Linked DNA regions of Homo sapiens: region 2 is linked to region 1. The links are contacts of gene promoters, found by promoter capture Hi-C in human tissues and cell types (Jung and others, 2019). All regions are on one chromosome and are shown on one strand. Each heading gives the region's core, a stretch centred on a gene start or on the middle of the fragment in contact. The rest is flanking DNA. Distances are from core to core; before and after follow the strand shown. Region 1 holds the start of KCNV2 (potassium voltage-gated channel modifier subfamily V member 2). Region 2 overlaps VLDLR-AS1 (VLDLR antisense RNA 1).

What was found. The method cuts DNA at HindIII sites, captures the fragments that hold promoters and counts their contacts. A contact is called where the count stands out against the background at its distance.
Region 2: a contact is called between a fragment that was not itself captured here and the fragment with the promoter of KCNV2 in region 1, in 1 of the 25 tissues and cell types used here (spleen).

What each region holds. Positions count from the first base shown.
Region 1 is chr9:2,713,863-2,718,759 of GRCh38, forward strand. It overlaps KCNV2 (potassium voltage-gated channel modifier subfamily V member 2), which reads left to right and starts at 3,648. Exons shown (of 2, transcript NM_133497.4): 1 at 3,648-4,897. The coding sequence starts at 3,878. The HindIII fragment of the contact is 9,328 bases long and covers 1-4,897 here.
Region 2 is chr9:2,569,720-2,574,616 of GRCh38, forward strand. All of the region lies in intron 1 of VLDLR-AS1 (VLDLR antisense RNA 1), which reads right to left. Among named protein-coding and RNA genes, the nearest start is that of VLDLR, 50 kb to the right of the region's middle. The HindIII fragment of the contact is 4,718 bases long and covers 1-4,696 here.

The DNA of each region.
Region 1 (4,897 bases), core at 2,398-4,897:
AAAAAGGAATAAGATTATGTCCTTTGCAGGGACATGGATGAAGCTGGAAGCCATCATCCTTAGCAACCTAAGACAGGAATAGAAAACCAAACACCACATGTTCTCACTCATAATTGGGAGCTGAACAATGAGAACACATGGACACAGGGAGGGGAACGACACACACCGTGGCCAGTCAGAATGAGGGGTGAGGGGAGGGAGAGCATTAGGACAAATAGCTAATGCATGCAGGGCTTAAAACTTAGATGACGGGTTGATAGGTGCAGCAAACCACCATGGCACATGTATACCCATGTAACAATCCTACACGTTCTGCACTTGTATCCTGGAACTTAAGGTAAAATTAAATTAAAAAAAAGAAAGAGGGTGTTTTCCACATTATGGGTCAACCATTGTTGGACAGTTTTATTAGAAACAGTCTATATATGTGTATACTCATCTAATGTTGCACTTACATGCATATACATCAGGGCAAAATCCAAGCAACTACTCATACCGGGGGTGTAAGAGTCACTTAAGTGGGGTCTACCCAGGTAATATTCCTCAATCTACTGTATGGATGTGGTGTTTGTGCTTAGCTTCTAGATGCCATACAAACATTACTAACTCCATAGTTTTTAAGTGTTGAAAGTCTGGATAAGTGGTAGTACATGGGTTGGGCATGGTGGCTTACACCTGTAATCCCAGCATTTTGGGAGACCAAGGTGGGTGGATCACCTGAGATCAGGAGTTCGGGACCAGCCTGGCCAACATGACAAAACCCCATCTCTACTAAAATTACAAAAATTAGCCAGGCATGCTGGCGGGCGCCTGTAATCCCAGCTAGTCAGGAGGCTGAAGCAGAAGAATTGCTTGAACCCAGGAGGCGGAGATTGCAGTGAGCCGAGATCACGCCACTGCACTCCAGCCTGGGCAACACAGTGAGACTCTGTCTCAAAAAAAAAAAAAAAAAGTAGTATATTATTTCAATTGAAAAAGAAGAAGATAAAAATATGAAAATGGTGATATTTTTACTTTTTTTTTTTTTGTCGAGACCAAGTCTCACTCTGTCACCCAGGCTGGAGTATAGCAGCATGATCTCAGCTCACTGCAACTTCTGTCTCCCGGGTTCAAACAATTCTTGTGTGTCAGCCTCCTGAGTAACTGGGATTACAGGCACCCGCCAACATGCCCAGCCCGGCTAATTTTTGTATTTTTAGTAGAGATGGGGTTTCACCAAGTTGGCCAGGCTGGTCTCAAACTCCTTACCTCGAGTGATCCACCTACCTCGGCCTCCCAAAGTGCTAGGATTACAGGCGTGAGCCACCACACCCAGTCTTTACTTTTTATAATAGTATAATTGGTTCTGAAGAGAAAAGGTGAATTTATGCAACATGCAAAATCTATTATGGCAGTACTCAGCACAATATAAAGAAAAGATAGACTTGGAAAGCAATTAAGTGTGTGGCTAGCAAAACAACATCAATATTGTATACCAAAAAGGGAACGCTAGAAATACATTTAGGAACTTAAAGGCTAAGCCTGGTAAGAAGCTTTACCATAAGCTTGTAGGTCTGAGGCCTATTGCAAGCTAAACAACATCAGTGAATGCCACACTAGCAGATGCAGACCTCATAACGTTACCCGTCTCAACAACTTTGAAGCATAGTTAAAACTCAACTAAGTGACAAAGATAGTACCACAAATCAGTGAGGAAATGATGGATTATGCAATTAATGTGTTGAAACATCTGGATAAAAGCTTGGAAAATAAAGTTAGGCCCCTACTTCACTCTTTACATCAAAATTAATTTCTGATGTTAAAACTATAAAAAGAAAAGTTTTATTTACAGAGAGGTGAAGCCTTTTCTAATACTACACAACACCCAGAAATCATAAAATAAAGATTTTTACATGGAAAAAATATTAAAGTTAAAACCGAAAAAAGGTGCAATCCATATCACAAGTAAAGGGTCTTTTTTCATAATGTATTAAGCTCTCCTACAAATCAATAAGAAAAATGTAAACAACTCAGTGGAAAATATAGGCAAAGTCGATGAACAGACAGTTCCCAGAAAAAGAAATAGCTTTTAATCACATGAAAAAGTGTTCAATCACATTTATAAGAAATACAAATTAACCCACACATCATTTTTCACTTACAAAATTGGTAGAGTTAAAAAAGTATAAGACATTTTCAACCGTTGATGAATTGTAAATTGGTAAAACTTTTATGGAGAGAAATGTAGCACTACTAATCAAAATTACAAATGTGCAATCTTTGACCTAGTAATCTCACCTCTAAGAATTTATCCTTTATATATCTTGAACATGTGTAAAGTGATGTACATATAAGGTATTTGTTGCATAATTGTCCATAAAAGCAAAGGTAGAAACATTCTGAATGTCTGTCATTAGGAAAGTGCTCAGTGGCTATTTTTAAAATAAGGTAGATATTTGTGTTCAAATATGAAAACATCTTTTATATGGCCAACTGGAAAAGGCAAAGTATATAGCATTCTATGATTTCTATTAATAATGAAGAGGTACTGAGATGATGGATAAAGGTAGGTATATTTTTGCTTGTATATGTTTAGAATATTTCTGGAAGGATAGCCAAAAGGTAGTAATAGTGGTTGCTTCCTTGAGGTACACCTGATGTCTTGAAATTATGGGTGGGAAAGACATAAACTTTCTACTGTAATATGTCTTTTTACCTTTACAATTTTTTATCATGAATGTGTATTAGCTATGCAAAATAAATTGAATAGAAAAACCAATTCCCTGCTCAAAGCAAATCCCTCCTGCTTCTCTCCTCCCCAGTATTTATTGCATCTTTTGTTATCCTTGCATGTTTATATCCCCAACAAAACCAAGAGTTCTTTGACTGCTACAACTGTGTCTCCATCGTGTTTGCATATCCAGCATTTGCACATTGCCTTAATCATGAAAAGGGTTTTTTTTTTTTTTTTAAAGTGATGTTTTGAAGGATGAAGAAGACCCTTTTTTTTTGGGTGGAAGTCAGGCTCCCTTTAAATATGGCCTAATATTGCTGAGCAGGGTTGTGAGGCCCTAAAAACGTCTTCCTACCATTCCTGGAATTCTACCTTGAAACATGTCTCTATCCTTTAAGAGAAAGGGAGGAGATAAAAAGGAGAGAGAGAAGCTGAAGCTGACTCAAAGATCCGACTGGACCTGAACAGTGCCCCAGGGAGAATCCATTTGAAAAAAAAAAAAAAATGTGATCATGTGAATGGACAAGAAGGAGATGGCTTTAGATCTTATATGCTCTAAACGAAGAGTTACGCTGAGAGGGAAACTGACTTGTCATGAAGTCAGCTTTGTTCCGTTGCTATGTGTCATCCCTGCTAATGGTGAGTTTACCTAGGGCAGAGGCTACCATCTCAACCATGAAGCTGAAGACACAGGCATCCGTATTCTATAGCTAATTCAGTTGATTTCATCTCAGCACACATACACTGAGCGCTTCCTAAGAGCGAGGTTGACCGACATTTTTATTAGCAATAATCTCTGCCTTCTTCTGATTACCTAGAGATTTAAGACCACATAATCATCCTCTACCTCACAGGGTCAAGGGAGTGGGGGAGGAAATGGGCTAAGAGGTTCTAAATCCCTCCTAACACTTGCTTCTTCCAAATCAGCAAGATTAGAGCAGTCAACAGCTGACTGCGTTCAGACCCTGCAGGCTGGGCTGGCCTGCCCAGGACCTGAGAAGGGGCAGCTCCGGTGGCAATGTCTGAGCCCCTAGCTGTGCTGGTCCGGGCTGGCCTCTCTAAGACAGTGCAGGCCACGTGATCCATCCTCCTAGAGGCAGTGAGCAGGTGAGGGACCCCTACCACAGCCAGGAGGAAAAAGCTAGGCGTCCACTTTCCGCAGCCATGCTCAAACAGAGTGAGAGGAGACGGTCCTGGAGCTACAGGCCCTGGAACACGACGGAGAATGAGGGCAGCCAACACCGCAGGAGCATTTGCTCCCTGGGTGCCCGTTCCGGCTCCCAGGCCAGCATCCACGGCTGGACAGAGGGCAACTATAACTACTACATCGAGGAAGACGAAGACGGCGAGGAGGAGGACCAGTGGAAGGACGACCTGGCAGAAGAGGACCAGCAGGCAGGGGAGGTCACCACCGCCAAGCCCGAGGGCCCCAGCGACCCTCCGGCCCTGCTGTCCACGCTGAATGTGAACGTGGGTGGCCACAGCTACCAGCTGGACTACTGCGAGCTGGCCGGCTTCCCCAAGACGCGCCTAGGTCGCCTGGCCACCTCCACCAGCCGCAGCCGCCAGCTAAGCCTGTGCGACGACTACGAGGAGCAGACAGACGAATACTTCTTCGACCGCGACCCGGCCGTCTTCCAGCTGGTCTACAATTTCTACCTGTCCGGGGTGCTGCTGGTGCTCGACGGGCTGTGTCCGCGCCGCTTCCTGGAGGAGCTGGGCTACTGGGGCGTGCGGCTCAAGTACACGCCACGCTGCTGCCGCATCTGCTTCGAGGAGCGGCGCGACGAGCTGAGCGAACGGCTCAAGATCCAGCACGAGCTGCGCGCGCAGGCGCAGGTCGAGGAGGCGGAGGAACTCTTCCGCGACATGCGCTTCTACGGCCCGCAGCGGCGCCGCCTCTGGAACCTCATGGAGAAGCCATTCTCCTCGGTGGCCGCCAAGGCCATCGGGGTGGCCTCCAGCACCTTCGTGCTCGTCTCCGTGGTGGCGCTGGCGCTCAACACCGTGGAGGAGATGCAGCAGCACTCGGGGCAGGGCGAGGGCGGCCCAGACCTGCGGCCCATCCTGGAGCACGTGGAGATGCTGTGCATGGGCTTCTTCACGCTCGAGTACCTGCTGCGCCTAGCCTCCACGCCCGACCTGAGGCGCTTCGCGCGCAGCGCCCTCAACCTGGTGGACCTG
Region 2 (4,897 bases), core at 1,088-3,587, 150 kb before region 1:
CTCGGCTAGGCTATGGTGCCCTCTTGTTTGGTTAAACACTAGTCTAGATGGGATGTGAAGGTATTTTGTAGATGTAATTAATATTTGTAATCTGTAGATTTTTTAGGTAAAGCAGATTACGCCCCATAATGTGGGTAGGTCTTATCTAATCAGTTGAGGGCCTTTTAACAACTGAGGCTTCCCACAGAAAAAAGAATTCTGCTTCAAGACTGCAACATAGAAATCCTGTTTGAGTTTCTCTCCTACCGCCCTGCCCTGCGGATTTTGGACATACCAGACCCCATAATTATGTGAGCAAATTCCTTAAAATAACTAGAATAATTCTCCCTTTTTCCCTCTCTCTGCCCCACCACACACACACACACACACACACACACACACACACACACACACACGTATATGTACATATGTGTGCACACACATATGTATAGATGTGTATGTATATATGTGTGCACACACATGTGTATAGATGTGTATGTATATATGTGTGCACACACATGTGTATAGATGTGTATGTATATATGTGTGCACACACATGTGTACAGATGTGTATGTATATATGTGTGCATACACATATGTATAGATGTGCATGTATATATGTGTGTATATATGTATATACATATATACATATATACATATATACATATATACATACATATATACATATATACATATATATACATATATACATATATACATATATATATACATATATATACATATATACATATATACATATATATATACATATATACATATATACATATATATACATATATCCTATTGGTTCTGTTTCTCTGGAAAACCCTGACTAATACAAGTAAATATCAAACATCGTTTATATTTTATCACAATCCTGGACTAAAATACCCAGAAGTTCTACCCTGCTTCCTAATACTTGCCTTGGAATCAGAGTGTTAGGTTTCCCAGGTTTCCTGTGTGGTTCCTCTAAGGACTCCTGTGGGTAGTCAGCGGAGAACCAGAACTCCTAGTTGCATTATTGTGGTAGCCAGGAGGTGACATTTCTCATATTCCCTTTTTAAGAGGGACAGATTTTATGAGTCACCTTGGGTGGCATAGCAATTTTGCAGCTGCGTAATGTTTGTAAGAAACTGACAGTCCCTCATGAACCACAGTGACCCAACTTGGCAGGGCCCCAGCACCTATTTATGGCCTGAGATACAGGGGAAGAGGTCACAGGAGGAGGTTCTCTCTTCTGGAATTGAGCCAGACAGACGATAACACTCTAGGTCAGAGTTAACACAGTCTGATTCACTGCAACACGTTCTCTGAATGACTTCCTAGGAGCCTAACTGAACTACTACAAATCCAGTGTTGATATCCAGTATGTAGCCACTTAGAAAAAGATAAAAAATAAAATAAAAAAGAGAAGGTCAATAATAAAAAAGAAGGCTTTAAGAGAAATAAACAAAAAATACCAAGTGTAGCCCAGTGATAGTGGGAATACAGACCTGGAACAACCCCCTTGCTCAGTTATGTGCCCTGTTCACATTACTCAGAAGACCTCACACTGCAGCTGCCGCCAACAGTAACTAGTGCCTCGAGGACAAATTCTTGTTTTTCCTTGCCTAGTTCAATACCTAGCACATAGCAGGAGCTTAAAAACTATTCACTGAGTCAATGAGCTACTAAGGACATAGAGCCCTTCACATCCACGTAGCTATTCAGCCAGGATTGTTTTTCATCCTGTCATTGAGCTTCACAAGCCCAGTATGATCCAGCACCTGAGAATATTTCTTTCTAAACTAGCCCTGATACATGTGTGCAGTTTCTGGGTTCTTAAAATCTTTAGAACTAAGGTCCTTATATTTGGATACTGTGTTTGTATTCATTTTCTAGGGCTGCCAAAACAAAGTAGCATACACTGAGTGGCTTAAACAACAGAAATTTATTTTCTCAGAGCCACGGCTAGAAGTCTGAGATTAAGATGTTGACAGGGTCGGTTTCATCTGAGGCTGCTGTCTTTGACTTGCGGATAGCCATCTTCTGTTTTTATCCTCACATGATTTTCCCTCTGTAACTGTCTGCATCCTAGTCTCATCTTCTTCAAAGGACACCAACCACATTGGATTAGGGCCCACTCTAATTATCTCATTTTATTTCATTATCTCTTTAAAGATCTGTCTCCAAATTTAGTCACATTCTGAAATACTAGGGCTTAGGAATTTGACATACACACTTCGGAGGGTCACAAACACATATACACACACATATAAGATACATGTAATAGGTAAATAAATCTTTTCACAGCTTTAAGGTCAGAAAGGGAAAGTCTTTACATCTGTTCTATCTTAATATCTTTCTCTGATTGCATACTTAGAACCCTCCATTAAGTGTGAAGGAAGAAAAACTATAGGATACAATCTCTGTATCTTTCCTCTAATTAACAATTAAACTAACTTTAAACTAATTAATTGATTTCTTTTTCATGTATCTCAAATTTTTATTTCCTCTTTGTATTAAGCTGTTCTTGCCTTGCTACAAAGAAATACCTGAGACTGGATAATTTATTTAAAAAGGGGTTTAATTGGCTCACAGTTCTGTAGGCGTACAGGAAGTACAGCAGCATGTGCTTCTGGAGAGACCTCAGGAAGCTTCCAATCATGGCAGAAGGCAAAGGGGGTACAGGCACATCACAGGCGGGAGCAAGAGAGAGTGGAGGTGGTAGGTGCCACACTCTTTTAAAGGATCAGATCTTGCCAGAATTCACTGTCATGAAGATGGCACCAGGCCATGAGGGATTCACCCCATGACCAAACACCTCCCACCAGGCCCCACCTCCAGCACTGGGGATTACAATTCAACATGAGATTTGGGCAGCAATAAATATCCAAACCATATCACTCTTTTAGAATTCTTGTAAGCTGAAAGAAACAGAAACACAGGAGTCTAGAAGTGGCCCACGGAGAAGTTGTTATGTCCTGAGCTCCTTGAGAACAGGCTGGGTCTTATGTCTGTATACTGTGAGCATATACTACATTACCTGGCATGGAATGGTTGTTCTAAAAATATATAGGTAAACGATGTGTGCAGGAAAACAAACCTCATGCTAGGTTCCTAGTTTTATGTTCCAGAAACACATTTGCCCCCTAAGCAATGTTAATATATGCTGACTTACGTTGGCCCATTGCATGCTTAACTTTTTAAAACACATTTATATATAATTACCTATTTCCTGGTGTTTCAACAGACTTGTTTGCAGCCATTTAAGTTAAAACAAAAGATAAATGTCTGCAGAGTATTATCTACACATAAACAAAACCCTAATAGCATCAATCTGTGAGACAACATTGTCCATTCAGAGATGAACTTCACCAAAACATACACTAACTGTCACTCATGGGGCTCCCTTGACTCCCCATTGCTAAGAGAGTGTATTCAAGAGTCACATACCTGTCAGGGTCAGCCTTGCATCTGACCTTGGCTTTGCCCTGGCCAAAGAGGCAGCAGTAAGAGGCAAGTGTGGGAACTTGGTTAATCTTCAGCACCTTTCTTGTTTAATACTATCAAGGTATTCCTTTAATGGGCCACTGATAAGGAGACTTTGTTGCTGAAAATCTTAAAAATTGAATGTCTAACATTCTATATCTGACCTGTGGCTGGTTATATAACTCTGATCCTTGAATGAATGATTCTGATCTGGTTAACCTCCTATCTTCTGTCTCTGGACCAGACTACGTATACTCTAGATCCTGTTATGACATGGTTGTCTATCTAGAAGGGGGATGTGGAAATAAATGATAATTACTACAACACAGTGACTAATCAGCAAGTTGTTTTCTATTTGTTCATTCAGAACAAAATTAAAACAAAGAAAACGTAAACTGGCTGGGCATGGTGGCTCATGCCTGTAATCCCAGCACTTTGGGAGGCTGAGGCAGTTGGATCACTTGAGGTCAGGAGTTCGAGACCAGCCTGGCCAACATGGTGAAACCCCATCTCTACTAAAAAAATACAAAAATTAGTTGGGTGTGGTGGTGCATGCCTGTAATCCCAGCTACTCAGGAGGCTGAGGCAAGAGAATTGCTTGAACCTAGGAGGTGGAGATTGCAGCAAGCTGGGATTGAGCCACTGCACTCCAGCCTGGGTGATAGAGTAAGACTCTGTCTCAAAAACAAACAAAAACTAAATTTATTATCCTCCCTGTTGAGACTGAGGAATCTTGATTAATAGATACATAGATGGGTCACAACTTAATTTCTTGAAAAAATTCATTATCAGCTGTAAATCTGCTGTAACCTAATGATTCTGTCCTCCCATTAAACATCAATGACCAAATCCTGGAATGCCACTTGCCAGCACTCACTAGCATTGCCATATAGTTCCACATCACTAGGTGGGGTTAAAAGTGTGATATGATGAATGCTGAACTCAGAGTCATAAGGACAAAAGTTCAAAACTCAGCTCCATAGTAGCTGTATTCTCTCAGCAAGTTACTGAGCCTGCTTTCTCAGTTCATCAAATCAAAATACCAGCATCCAACCCATAAAAGAAGTGCCACAAGGATTAAATAAGATAAGGAATTATGCCATCAATTAGTCAACATATATTTACCGAGTGCATACTAAGTGCCAGGCACTGTTCTGGGACCTAGGGAGAACATCACTGTGAACATCCCTGGTGGGACTCTTATGTTGGTAGGGGTAGAGGAAGTGATGGAATAGACAATAAATGAGCAGGGCAAAGAGAGACGATGAGTAATACAGCCTGGGGATAGAAGTCTGTTATTTTATTAATAGGGTGACCAGGGAAGGCTTCTCCAATGAGAGAACATGCACAGAGCTTAGAATGAGGTGCAGGAATGAAGCGTGCACTTATGAGAGGGAAAGAACTTCCCTATGCCCTAGAGAGAAGAGCAGGCACAGATGACCCAAGG